5 separate regions of the Homo sapiens genome follow, and all the other regions are linked to region 2. Evidence: promoter capture Hi-C in human tissues and cell types (Jung and others, 2019). All regions are on one chromosome and are shown on one strand. Each heading gives the region's core, a stretch centred on a gene start or on the middle of the fragment in contact. The rest is flanking DNA. Distances are from core to core; before and after follow the strand shown.

What was found. The method cuts DNA at HindIII sites, captures the fragments that hold promoters and counts their contacts. A contact is called where the count stands out against the background at its distance.
Region 1: a fragment that was not itself captured here is called in contact with the fragment with the promoter of SOX1 in region 2 in 10 of the 25 tissues and cell types used here (H1 embryonic stem cells, IMR-90 fibroblasts, bladder and 7 more).
Region 3: a contact is called between a fragment that was not itself captured here and the fragment with the promoter of SOX1 in region 2, in 8 of the 25 tissues and cell types used here (adrenal gland, aorta, dorsolateral prefrontal cortex and 5 more).
Region 4: a contact is called between a fragment that was not itself captured here and the fragment with the promoter of SOX1 in region 2, in 4 of the 25 tissues and cell types used here (H1 embryonic stem cells, liver, lymphoblastoid cells and 1 more).
Region 5: a fragment that was not itself captured here is called in contact with the fragment with the promoter of SOX1 in region 2 in 5 of the 25 tissues and cell types used here (bladder, dorsolateral prefrontal cortex, hippocampus and 2 more).

Annotation. Positions count from the first base shown.
Region 1 is chr13:112,181,399-112,184,098 of GRCh38, reverse strand. It overlaps LOC105370370 (a long non-coding RNA gene), which reads left to right. Exons shown (of 6, transcript XR_944288.1): 4 at 981-2,458. Among named protein-coding and RNA genes, the nearest start is that of LINC01070, 15 kb to the left of the region's middle. RefSeq lists an enhancer at 1-632. The HindIII fragment of the contact is 5,467 bases long and covers 1-2,700 here.
Region 2 is chr13:112,065,726-112,068,425 of GRCh38, reverse strand. It overlaps SOX1 (SRY-box transcription factor 1), which reads right to left and starts at 1,277. Exons shown (of 1, transcript NM_005986.3): 1 at 1-1,277. The coding sequence starts at 767. The region is part of intron 1 of SOX1-OT (SOX1 overlapping transcript); the gene reads right to left. The HindIII fragment of the contact is 28,986 bases long and covers 1-2,700 here.
Region 3 is chr13:112,132,244-112,134,943 of GRCh38, reverse strand. No RefSeq gene overlaps it. Among named protein-coding and RNA genes, the nearest start is that of LINC00404, 27 kb to the right of the region's middle. The HindIII fragment of the contact is 7,382 bases long and covers 1-2,700 here.
Region 4 is chr13:112,160,449-112,163,148 of GRCh38, reverse strand. LOC100506016 (a long non-coding RNA gene) reads left to right here and starts at 2,439. Exons shown (of 2, transcript NR_134944.1): 1 at 2,439-2,700. RefSeq lists an enhancer at 2,352-2,700. The HindIII fragment of the contact is 8,047 bases long and covers 1-2,700 here.
Region 5 is chr13:111,988,699-111,991,398 of GRCh38, reverse strand. The region is part of intron 1 of SOX1-OT (SOX1 overlapping transcript); the gene reads right to left. Among named protein-coding and RNA genes, the nearest start is that of SOX1-OT, 18 kb to the right of the region's middle. The HindIII fragment of the contact is 4,707 bases long and covers 1-2,700 here.

The sequences.
Region 1 (2,700 bases), core at 77-2,576, 120 kb before region 2:
TGAGAAAGCTGCACTGCGTGACGACAAACCCACAGAGAGAGTGGAGCTCCAGCCTCGCTTTCTTGGTGACTCTGCGATGCTAGAAATAAACAAATTTAACAGACGCCTTCGAGGGGCCACCAACCCAGCCGCACACTGAGTCGGCACGAGTGTGTGCCGGGCAACGCGCTCAGCTCTGCGGGGCTGCGTCACCAGCTGCACTGCGTCTCCCCCACTTTCATACACTGCAGCCCTCACCCCCAGGACCTCCCAATGGGACCGCATTTGGCAGTGGGGTCTTAAAGAGATCGTTGGGTAAAATGAAGCCATAGGGGTTGGCCCTCATCCAGTAGGACCAGTGTCCTTATAGGAAGAGGAGGTTAGGACAGACACACACAGGGACGGCCGGGCGAGGACACAGGCAGAGGGCAGCATCCAGAAGCCCAGGAGAGGAGCCTCCGGAGGAACCAGCCCTACTCACACCTTGGTCTTGGACTTCCGGCCTCCAGAACCACGAAGAAGTAAGCCACCCAGTCTGCGGAATTTTGTTATGGCAGGTTGTAACAAGGCTTTCTGAAAAATACAAGCATTTCAGGCAGAGGCCCTTCACAGCCTGTTACGCAACCACTCAAAGTGCATGCCTTGTCTTTTGCAATTTCCTCAGAATTGGTTATGTCACTGGCACTCACGCCTAGGCCGTCCCGAGGGGCCAGCCCCGGGCACGGTCTCCCTTTCCCTGGGTGTGGGTACTGCCGGTGTGGGAACTGGCTGCTGGCGTGGGAACTGGCTGCTGGTGTGGGAACGGCTGCTTGTCCCAGTGGTGCCCACCTGTGTCCACACTTCAAGGCCACCTGGGCCTGGAGATGTCACTAAGGGTTGACCCGGAGACGCCGACCTCAGGGACCTGGGAGGCTGCACACTGGCCGTGTTTGAAGTGACCCTCATGTCACCCAGGTCAAGTGCCACGGGCCCCACACATCCTCTTCTTCCCTGTCTCCCAGCTGCAGGCCCGGACTGGATGGCTTTGGCTAAGGAACCAACGCAGGTGGAGAAGGAGGCTGACGATGGAGCCCAGGCACTCCAGCCTTGAAGGAGGAGAACCTGACCCTGAGCCTGCATGGCAGCCGTGCGGGGGGACTTCGGGGGGTTTCCCCTTTGCTTCCATCCAAAGAAAGTGCCCCACGTTTGAAAGCCTCTGTGCTGAATGCTCCCAATGCCCTCCGATTCCATCTAGGTCGTCCCTACCACCAAGGCAGGTGTGTGAATTCACCCGCACAGCTCACCGTCCTGGGAGGGTGACGCTGGAGGAGGGACGTCCCTACCATCAAGGCAGGTGTGTGAATTCACCCGCACAGTTCACCGTCCTGGGAGGGTGACGCTGGAGGAGGGACGTCCCTACCATCAAGGCAGGTGTGTGAATTCACCCGCACAGTTCACCGTCCTGGGAGGGTGACGCTGGAGGAGGGACATCCCTACCATCAAGGCAGGTGTGTGAATTCACTCGCACAGTTCACCGTCCTGGGAGGGTGACGCTGGAGTAGGGATGTCCCTCCGGGGTCTCTTCAGCATCTGCCCTTCTCCACCACATAAGTTCGTCAGTGAGGGGGAGTCACGCAGCTGGGAGCATGGAGTGCAGTGCGCAGGCCCCTTGCCCGGGGCCAGGCTCCCTCTGCCTCATTGCCGCTAAGAGGCTGCCCTTTCTGGCCTGGACATCTCCTGGGACTGTGGGCCCTCACAGCCCTGGGCAGTCTGGACAGGACGGACTGTGCTTCTCATGGGGCAGCACTTCCTCCACTGCAGACGCTGCCACCTGCCCCCTCCCTCCCTGCTGGAAGCCTCTGGTCTCCAGGCCTCTCCTGGCTGTCTCTGGCCCTTGCCTCATTCACACCCAGCTGTGAGCATACCTGCTGGCTCAGCCCAGAGCCCCTGTCTTCTCAGCTTTGCACCCCAACTCCTGAATTTGGTTTTCAGCTGGATTTCCTTAGGCTCAGGACTTAGCCAGGACTTGTGGACTCTCCTGCATATTTCTAGTACATGCACCTGCACAGGTTCGGGCCCTCTGACCACGAAGAGTGAATGAGACTGGGAGGGGTCATTACACATTGCAAGCAAAGCCATAAACACACACACCAGCCAGGTGCAAAAAGAGTTAAACTAATTAGCTTATTCCCTTGGGGAGAGTTTAAGCAGAAGTAGGAAAATAACTGAAGTACCAAACTGTCAGACAATGAATGGGTCTGGAATAATGTGAAAATTACTGCAACTGTCTGAGAGGCTATGTAGTTGGTGTTGTTATTAGTGGGGAGCTTTTTCCTCCACAGAGCAAGATACTAAATGGATGTCATTTCTGGGCACTTACATAATTGGCTAAGGCTGGTCTCAGCGGAAAACAGCCGCTGGCCCTGTCCACACACACACGCGGACCCACGGGGCCACTTGGAAGTCGGACGCTCCTGGCCTGACACTGCATTGTCTCCAGGTGGGACTGTGGAGCCACTTCCCTGGCCTGCCCCCTCTGTGGACAGGTGCTTGCTCATTTCCTGTGGACAGGAATCTCATTCAGACACTGGGCTCTGCTCCTTACCTCCTCCTCCAAGTGAGCTCAGCCGCTCCACACAGATGGGCAGCACTGTCCTCACCAGAGGGAACAGTTCGATTCGGGAGGGAGTTTGAGACCCACCACACCCCTTGCCCAGGCTTGATGCGAGTGAGGTGGAGAGC
Region 2 (2,700 bases), core at 28-2,527:
TACTGCAGCGCGCCCATGTCGTAGCGGTGCATGGGCTGCGGGTTGTGCGGGTGCGCGTGCGGGTGGTGCGGGTGCGGGTGCGCGGGGTGCGCGTGCGGGTGCGCGCCGCCCGCGCCCGGGTGCTGCCCGTAGGCCAGCTGCGCCTCCTGCATCATGGCCGCGGCCGCCGCCGCCGCCGCCACCGAGCCGGGGTAGGCGCCGTTGGCCCAGCCGTTGACGTGCGCGTAGCCGCCGCCCGCCGCGCCGCCTGGGCTCTCCAGGCGCTGGCCCACGGCCGCCGCGCCCACGCCCACGCCCACGCCCATGGCCACAGCCGCGCCGCCGCCACCCGCGCCGGCCGCCAGGAGCCCGCCGGCCAGCGAGTACTTGTCCTTCTTGAGCAGCGTCTTGGTCTTGCGGCGCGGCCGGTACTTGTAATCCGGGTGCTCCTTCATGTGCAGCGCGCGCAGCCGCTTGGCCTCGTCGATGAACGGCCGCTTCTCGGCCTCGGACATGACCTTCCACTCGGCCCCCAGGCGCTTGCTGATCTCCGAGTTGTGCATCTTGGGGTTCTCCTGGGCCATCTTGCGCCGCTGCCCGCGGGACCACACCATGAAGGCGTTCATGGGCCGTTTGACCCGGTCCTGGTTGGCCTTGGCGCCCCCGCCGCCGCCGCCGCCCCCGCCTCCGCCCCCGCCGCCGCCCGCCCCGGCGGGGCCCGAGAGGTTCGTGGGGGCCTGGGCGCCGCCGGGCGAGTGCAGGTCGGTCTCCATCATCATGCTGTACATCGGGGCGGCTGGCGGGTTCACCGGCACCGCGAGGAGAGGGCCTGGAGCATAGACGGCCGGGGTGGGAGGGAGACGGAGAGGAATTCAGACGGAGTGAGACGGGGGCGGGGGGGTCCTAGCGGAGAGAAGAATGGGGAGGGGTGGAGGCAACGACAACAAAAAAAGGCAGAAACACACGCACTCGGCGCCGGTTCGGCTCGCAGGTGGAAAGTTTCTCCTGATGCACAAACCACTTGCCAAAGAGGCCGACGGTCGGGGTCGCCGTCTTCGCCGCCACCGCAGCCCAGGCGCCCTCGGCGGAGCGGTGCAAACAGGTGCAGTCGTGGCCAAGTTGCAGCTCCGCTTTTGGGGCCGGGAGCGGTGCGCTGGGCCCGGCCCGGGGTGTGCTGTCTCCTCGCCGGCCGCCGCTGCGCGCTGTCTCCTTCCTCCTGCGCTCGGTCCTCAGCGGCCTCCAACTCGGAGGCTGCAACTTCTAGCAGGGCGGCGCGCCGCGTGCGCTGGGCATGTGCTGGTCCCAGGTGCCCGGGGGAAGCCAGGCGCCAGTGGCGGGGGGGGGGAGGCGCAGGGGGGCCTGCAGGGGGCGATTACGGTGCAGCCAGGGAGGGGCCCGGGGACAGCGGGAGGAGCGCGGGCTCGCGGAGAGGGCCGGAGAGCCGGGGCCGCCGAGCCCGGGATGGGCTGCCCGCTGCCTGCCCGGGGCCGTGCGCTCGGAGCGGAGGCGCACGCGGGGCCGGCGGCGCGCGGGGCCCAGCAGCCATACGCCGGGCCCGGGCTGCCATTAAATGAGCGCGCCGCGGCCAATGGGAGCCGGCGGCGGCGGTGATTTGCATGGCGCGCTGGCGAGTGACGTGGGGAGGGAGTAGATACACTGGGCGCGGGCGGCGGAGCGGGGAGGAGGGGAGGAAGGAGGGGGAGCAAAGCAGGAAGGAGGGGGGAGGAGGCCCGGGAGGGGGTGACAGCCACACCGCTTCCTGAGCGCGCGCGCGCGGCGGCGGCGGCGGCGGCGAACCCCGAGCTCGCCCTCCTCGCCGCTCCCCGCCCGCGCGTTCCGAATGATTAACGATTGGGTTGAAAAGCGAAGACTAAGAAAGGATCGTCGTGGGGTGGGGGGAGGAAACGCAGCCCCTGGCCAGGTTTAAACGGGCGCAGTGGAGACCCAGCTCCTCCTCTGCCCCCGCCGGCCAACTCTGTGCCTGCAGGGAAGGGGAAAGTTGAGTGCGGGGCTGGCACGTCGCCCTCAGTTCCCCCGAGTGCTGAAAAGGAGGGGCGCTCCCTTGGACGCAGGGGATACCCTCCGAGGGCCCCTGCAGGTTCTCTGCAAGGATCAGGCGGCTCAGCCATCCCCCGCCCTGCATCCGTTCTCGGCCGCGGCGTGCACTGAAGTTCGCCAGTGCCCGCTCTTGCAGCGAAGGCCTTCACAGTCCAGGCCCCACAATTCGGGTAAAGGGGGAGTATTTGTGTGGGCATGGCTCCATAGCTTCGTTTAGTATCAGCCCTAAACTTTTGTGGGGAGGAGTCTTTCAATGAGCCCGGGGCCATAGTCACGCACTCTTCCCAACCCGGATCTTCTTCCTCTGGAAAAGGAATTTCTAGGAAGGCCGAACACAACAAGATCTATCTGGAATCTAGTTCCTGAACAACAGTTGAAAAAGTTTGTTGAATCGCAAAATAATGATATGGCGCACGCTTTTCTGGAGTGAATTTCCCACGAGCTGGTTGCCTAAGAACGGAGAAAACTGCGTGAACTGCGCGGGGCCACATAAACCGAATGAAAGGCGGGGCCTCAGGACGGGTCTCAGCCGCCGGTCTGCGTCATGCAAAGGAAAGGCCTGGCTCGTGGAAAGAGTAAGGCATTCACCTGTGGTTATCATTCTTAAACCTCAAAGTGGCTTTGATTTGGGAACGTGAAAGAGATTTTCAAACGCAGTCTCAA
Region 3 (2,700 bases), core at 189-2,688, 66 kb before region 2:
TTTCCAGGAGAGCTGGCCCGATAGCGCAGCTGTGCTCAGGGCTTAAGGGGCGGTGAGTGTTCAGCCTCCACCCTCCTTGCTGACGTGGCATTCCCGGAAATCCGAAACAGTGTGGTTACTGAGGTCATTTAGATCTTGAATCCAATTCTCTGGTGTTCCTTTTCTTTAGGGGAACATTGTTATTTCTGTGAAAACAGGGACTGGGGCTTTCAGGATAAAGGGGGATGATGATCGTTTCTGAAACTGAAGAAGCGGGAGAGAAACACTAGTGATGGCAGCTGAAGCCTCATGAACCTGGGCTGGTGGCCGTGGAACGCCAGGTCAGCTCCAGCCTAGGAGTGAGTCCTTGAGAGTAAGTCAGGGTCATAATGGTGTCCATACACAGCAGCAGACTTCCCTGTGTTTCCTAAAGGCCTGATGAAAGAGGCACCATGACGCTCCACCACCCTCCAGTCGGGCCCCATTTCCCTCCTGGGCTCCTCCACAGGCCCCTGCCATGCCTCCCCTGCATCCAGACAGAAGCCCTGTAACAGGTCAGCCGATGAAATGACTAAAGCAGAAGCAGTTTCCAGAACGCAGAGGTCATCCGGGCTTCCTCATGGGACAGAGGTCCGACCGCTCACAGCTCTGCGCATCCATGTCTCTCTCTCGGTGGACAAGGGACAGGGTGTGTTAGTTCGCTGCCACCTCTGGCGGAGAAAGTTCCACGGCAGAATCAGATGGACACGTGGCTGGTTCCCGGCACACACTCGCACCGCTCTCTTCGATGTGATTTTATCTGTGAAGGCGTGTGTATAATCAGTGGGGATTCATTTTCAGAGAAAGGACCCGCTAAAAAAAAGTGACCCTAATGAATGTCATTAGGAAGGAAATGCTGCTTTCTCTCTGGCCACTGTTTACACCGGGGCTGTAAACAGTCCAGCGTGTCCACGGTAACCAGCAGCTCCACATTTAACTTTTCAGTCTATAAAGGAGGCAATTACTTTCTTCTTTACATTTGTATGGTTTATAATAGCAATAAGACTGCCCCCGCCCTGGGTCAGACAACTCCTGGTGATTAATGAACAACTGGCCATTTTCATTTAAGTTTTTCTTTCTTAAGGGCTTTTGATTTCACTCCAGGGTCTTAAACTTCCTTGGTCACTTGCTGACTGCCAAAAAATGTCCTCCTTGTGGGTCATGACTGCCCCACACTCTTGGTTCTAAGACAAAGGCAAGCCTGCTGCAGTATCTTCCGTGTGGCCGCGTTAGTCCGTGAGTGGCACTGTTTTACCCTCTTTGTGTATGTACTCATGCAAGTGGCTTCTGTGTATTTGAGGAGGTAGCTGGGAGGATATTTTGTGATACAGAAGCAATATAATGCATGATGGACAAAGGAACGTATTCTGTGTAACGTCACAGCACTAAGGCATTAGAGTTCAGTGCAATTCTCTGCTTTACAAAATGAAAATGGGAATGCCATCCGGAGGCTTCCTCTACTCATCCAGCTCTACCTGGAGAAATTCAAGCTTTATTTATCACATGAGAAACACTTATCAGTCACCTCCAGGTGTATGTGCCACATGATGTAGGGTCACAGACATGTATTTGCCCCGTAATCAAAAGATACTGCACATTTATTCTGTATTAACTTCTTGGCTTGACTTGGGCTGTGCACAAGCTGGGATCATAATCTGTGGAAGGGGATGGGTATAGACAGTGAATCCTACCACCCAGCATGCAAATTGGAATCTTCAAGGAGACACTGTGAGCTTGAGGTTGTCGAGATGTTGCTTCATTGTGGTCATCTCCACTGCAGCTGCGGTGGCAGGAAGACGGCCCTGCTTCCTGACGTCCACCCACGAAGGACACTTCCTCAGGTGCTCTTTGAACCATTTAAATGGTCAGGGCGATTCACCTGCTCATGGAACCAGCCTGCATGTGGGTTAGAATAGACACCACTGGGCGTATCTATTGAGGATGCAGAGCAGACACACAGGGGATGGCAATTCTCTTTGCGGTGTGAACACAGGGTTTGGTGTAGCTGATGGTTTAGTGGTGGAAGATGAATGTCTGACCCTCTGCTGTGGCTCTCGAGGGAAAAGACTTCCTGGATGGCGCCAGCTCTGTGCAGTGGGGCGATGGGTGCTGAACGTGCTTGGTGGGTCACCTGAGCTTTGGGTGCCTGCGTGGAGTGTTGGCCCAGCACTGGAGGGGCTTGGGCGTCATGCTCCCTTCTGGAGCTGCTGCTTGGAGATTTTTAACTCAGTCGGTATAAGCCTTTCTTTAGTGGTAATATTCCTGAGAATCCAAGAGAGTTAAGTTTGGTGAGAACCTAACTGTTATGTGTGTTGCTTTTAGCTTCTAACTTATTCCAGGTATATATCATGAACTATATGTGTAAAGGCAACTTTTAAGTGGCAGTCTTTAACATAGATATCCAAATACAACACCAACCTGCTTTTCAAACTGTCTGGGCAGATGTTATTTGGAGTCATTCAGCCCGGAAGACAGTGCAGTCCTACTGTTCAGAACCTCCGTGTATATCTGCGGCCGGGCAGGGATGTGCCCGGCTCAGACTCCGCCTTCCTCGGCAGCCGCCGTTGCTCCATGGTGGGCAGGCGGCTTCCTGCCCCTCCACTTCATGCTTCCACAAGTAGCATGGCGGAACATTTTTTTAAAAACAAGGAAGGAGGAGGGAAAAGCTGTTCCACTCTGCAG
Region 4 (2,700 bases), core at 3-2,502, 95 kb before region 2:
GCCCTGCACATCTTCTAGTCTTGAAAATAAAAGTTAAAATCTGATGACGATGATCAGCTGGGCAAGTTAGGAAACTCAAGGCGCTCAGAAGCAGCCTGAGGCCGAGTCCTCCAGTCCTCTCAGCTGTTTTAACAGTCACATTCCATCCTGCATCTTTTGAGTCTGAGACTCAAAAGTCGCATAATCTTCTAACTTGAGAATTTGATATCTCATCTCCTTCCCATTCTTCTATCTTTTGTTGCAAATAATTTAACGTCACATTTGCTCTAATTTTCTGTTATTTTTTTTACTTTGAGCCCTTCTCCCATTCATGTCCCGTACTAATTGGAAGGTCTTTAAAAGAAAAGTCGCTGTCATTTTGTCCCTTGGTTATTTTGTTGTCTTTTTTTTTTTTTTTGGAGAAGTTTGGATTCAAATAAAAGTTAAACTTAAAAAAAAAAAACCATACCTAAATATGTTGGTATGAAAACTAAATTCTATAAATAATGCTTTTTTAATGCAAAGAATGGCTTTCTGAACAAATAACCTTACTGCTAATATTAAATGGAAGCACTTTATGATACAAATGCAAAACTCTTCCAAATCATTTTCGGGAAAAAAAATCATGAAAGTCTGAAATTAGCAAATGAAAACATTGCGTCCAGTGATATTGTTTTCTAAATATGCCTGAAATCTGTCATAATCTGTTTTCCTGGAACAATAAGAAAGTGGTTCCAAGCCCCCATTACTATCATTTTCTACACAAAGGTTATCTGTGCATTATATTCAATATAGAATTTTCAAATTTTGAAACATTTTATTATTACAGTAATGGCTATTGCCTTTTCTAACAGACACCCTGTCAGAAGGTTTAAAAAATGTATGTTTCGGTTCATGCAAAAAAAAAAAAAAAAAAAAAAAAGGTCAAAACTTTTAAAATGTCACTTCTTCTGCGCTTTGCATAGAAATACATTGGATCAGTGGGAGGCTCCCTGCCCACAGAAGGGGCTGCGGGAAGAATGCTGCCTGCTGCTGAGCCTCCACTTTCCTGCAGCTGTGAGCTGAGCAGAAAGGCACTGTGGGAGTCTATTGTTGCCCCAGCTGGGTAATAGTTTTCTTATTTTACAGTCAGCAGCCAAGGGGGGTTGGGGTGTCTCCGTAAAGTGCCTGAAAAAAATACATAACTCCTGCAAATAGATCACTTTCTGCTTCTTCCATGAGAAACAGGAGTCTATAAATTGTGTAGTTCGTTTGGACCTACCAGTATAATTAAATATCACAAACAAAAGCCACCCCCAGAACCACAAGAGCTACAGATACGGTGCATTTTCCCGACAAACCTGGGCTGCGGGGAGCGCTGGGGCCTGCAGACTTGGTGACACAATTGTTTCTCCCATCTCCCGTCAGCCAATTATTCTTTCCCGTTTACTTTGTTTGAAAGTCACCTGCCATATGCTGAAGGACTAAGGCATGAAACTAAAATTTTAATCTCAAATGTTTTCAGCAAGGCGGGATTGCAGGCGCATGGGTCCTACTGAGCGTCTGAATTCCGCTTTTGTTTACCAGGCAGATCGCTAAGTTTGCGTGAACGGTGGTTAGGCTGCCGAGTGTCTTCACGGCTGAAGTTTGAGCAGGGCCCGGACTTCAGGCTTGTTTTGTTTTGTTTTGCACTGTGAATTGTCCATCGTGGTTTTGTTACCATGGAAACTCATTTTTAAAAGGTGAAAAGTCACTGACCTTTTACCATTGCCACTGCAGGAATTAATATTCTAGCAGGTTGGGAGGAAGGAGGCGTCTTGAATGTAGGTGAGGCCGTTTTCTGGTGATGTCCCCACAGAGAACTGTCTGATTTTTAGCCTTAAAGTCACAAGGGGACTAGGCTTACACTTTTTTTTACACAAATCGCCTTCAAATCAGATGTTTCAAAAATAATGAGACTGTTTTGTGCAGAGACTAAAATGAAGCTGTTAGGACTTTGATTTTTCAGAGCGATCGAAAGCGTCAGCTTTCTCATTCCTTAGGAAGCTCCCGTGGCTGAGTTTTAAAATGTTCACTCTGATGACCTGACTCTCTGGACACCCAACGAGTGGAATTATTTGTAGAAACTAATAGCACACAGTCCTAGAGTGAGCTGGCGAGTAGAAACCAGCCTGTGACCACATGGAGAGTCAGAGAGCTGAAGGAAATGTACTGTGAATGGGTTTTTCTTTTAAGCGCACTGAATAAATGAGATCTAGTGTTTACTCTTTTGATGGATCTGAGGACAATGTAAGTTTCAGGCACTGTTCCTGGAAAGGAAGAGAAAGCCACTTCTCGGGGTCACTGAGTGTTGACGCCGCGCCTAGTGTGGGTGGTGATGAGAACGCAGTAACTGCTCAACAAACAGGCGCTGAATGAGTCGCCTGTGACGGTGCTTCCGGAAGCTTCAGCCATATGCTAGTTATGGCAAGTCTGACAGATGGATCGACAGCAGCTGTCCGCCAGGATGCATGTGCTCTGCCTTCCTAGGGGTTGGGCACGTGATCATGGGATGGTGTCAACCCAAGAGAAGGGGTCTTAACATGCAAACCCTTGAATACCAGAAAACGGCAGCTGCAAAGGGAAAAGATAAGAACAAGGGAAAATTTAGTATTTTAACTTTTTGCTTTCTGTATGGGTAAGAACAAAACCCCAGAAACAGAGGGCAGGCTAATTGGGTGATCAAAGGCACAGGACAGGGGT
Region 5 (2,700 bases), core at 59-2,558, 77 kb after region 2:
AAGTCTTATCTCATTCTGGCTTAACTCAAAAGTCCAAGTCCAAAGTCTCATCTGAGACAAGGCAAGTCCCTTCCACCTATGAGCCTGTAAAATCCAAAGCAAGTTAGTTACTTCCAAGATACAGTGGGAGTACAGGCATTGGATAAATGCTCCCATTCTAAATGGGAGAAATTGGCTAAAACAAAGGGGCTACAGACCCCATGCAAATCCAAAATCCAGTGGGGAAGTCATCAAATCTTAAAGCTCTGAAATAATTTCCTTTAACTCCATGTCTCACATCCAGGTCACACTGATGCAAGAAGTGGGCTCCCACAGCCATGGACAGCTCCACCTCTGTGGCTTTGCAGCCCCCCTCCTGGCTGCTTTCATGGGCTGGTGTTGAGCATCTGTGGCTTTTCCAAGCACATGGTGCAAGCTGTCAGTGGATCTACCACTCTGGGTTCTGGAGGATGATGGCCCTCTTCTCAGAGCTCCACTAGGCAGTGCCCCAGTGGGAATTCTGTGTGGGTGCTCTAACCCCACATTTCCCTTCCTCACTGCCCTAGCAGAGGTTCTCCATGAGGGCTCTGCCATTGCAGCAGGATTCTGCCTAGACATCCAGGTATTTCTGTATATCCTCTGAAATCTAGGTGGAGGTTCCCAAACCTCAATTCTTGACTTCTGTGCACCTACAGGTCCAACACCACATGGAAGACACCAAGACTTGGGACTTGCACCCTCTGAAGCAGCACCCAAGCTGTACCTTGGCCCTTTTTAGTCATGGCTGGGGTTGGAGCAACTGGAACATAGGGCACCAAGTCCCAACGCTGCATACTGCAGGGGGGCCCTGGGCCCAGCCCACAAAACCATTTTGTCCTCCTAGTCCTCTGGGCCTGTGATGGGATGGGAGGGGCTGCTATCAAGATCTCTGACATGCCCTGGAGACATTTTCCTCATTGTCTTGGTAATTAACATTCAGGTCCTTGTAACTTATGCAAATTTCTGCAGCTGGCTTGAATTTCTCCCCAGAAAATGATTTTTTCTTTTCTACCACATCATCAAGCTGCAAATTTTTCAAACTTTCATGCCCTGCTTCCTTTTTAAACAAAAGTCCCAGTTTCAGACGATCTCTCTCAAGTTCAAAGTTCAACAGATCTCTAGGGCAGGGGCAAAAGGTTGCCTGTCTCTTTGCTAAAGCAAGAGTGACCTTTGATCCAGTTCCCAATAAGTTTCTCATCTCCATCTGAGACCACCTTAGCCTGGACTTCATTGTCCATATCACTAATAACAATTTGGTCAAAAACATTCAACAAATCTCTAAGAAGTTCCAAACTTTCTCACAACCCCCTGTCTTCTTCTGAGCTGTCCAAACTGTTCCAACCAGTTCCAAAGTCACTTCCACATTTTTGGGTATCTTTATACCAGTACCAACCTACCGGTACCAGTTTATTTTTCCATTTTCACACTGCTATAAAGAAATAACTGAGACTGGGTAATTTATAAAGGAAAGAGGTTTGATTGACTTACAGTTTTACATGGCTGGGGAGGCCTCAGGAAACTTATGATCATGGCAGAAGGCGAAGGGGAAGCAAGCACCTTCTTCACAAGGTGGCAGGAGAGAGAAGGACAATGTAGGAACTTCTAGACACTTATAAAACCATCAGATCTTGTGAGAATTTACTTACTATCACAGCATGGGGGGAACTTCCCCCATGATCCAATCACCTCCTTCCCACGTGGGGATTACAATTCAAGATGAGATTTGGGTGGGGACACAGAGCCAAACCATACCACCACCAAATTCTGAATTTCTAATAATGAAAGTCTATAGGATCTTAAAGAGTTTTTGCCGCACTTTCAGAAGTTTGTCCATGTTTCAAACCCAAAGTCTCTCCATTTTGGTTTACTATAATAGAATACCTGAGATTGAGTAATTTATATAAAAAAGTAAGTTATTTCTTACAGTTCTGGAGGCTGGGAAGTCCAGGAACATGGTGCTGGAATCTGGTGAGGAACTTCTTCCTGCATGATCTCAGGCAGAAGGCAGAAGGGCAAGAGTGCACAACAGCAGGAGAACAAGAGGTGGCTGAACCTACTTTATGACAAACCCACTCATGATAAGTCACCCACTCCTGAGAAAACAGCATTAACCCACTCATGAGGGCAGAGGCTTTATGACCTAATGACTTATCAGGCTCCACCTCTCAACACTGTTGCATTGGGGATGAAGTTTCTGACACATGCTTTTTGGGAGACACATTCAAACTATAGCATTCTTCCCCTGGCCCCCAACATTCAATGTCTTTCTCACAATGCTAAAGCCATTTATTCCACCCCAGTATTCCCAAAAAAGTCTTAACTCATTTCAGCATCAACTCAAAAGTCTGAAGTAAGTCTCACCTAAAGCAGATATGGGTGAGACTCAAGGCACAATTCATCCTGAGGCAAATTTCTCTCTGGCTGTGAGCCTGTCAAGTTAACAAATTATGTGTCTCTAAAATACAATGGTGGAGGCTGGGCACCATTGCTTACACTTGTAATCCTAACACTTTGGAAGGCTGAAGTGGGAGGATTGCTTGAGCCCAGGAGTTCGAAACCAGCCTGGGCAACATAGTGAGATCCTGTCTCTACGAAAAAAAAAAAAAAGTTGAGTGTGATGGCATACACCTGTAGTTCCAGCTACTTGGGAGGCTGAGGTAGGAGGATTGCTTGAGCCTGAGA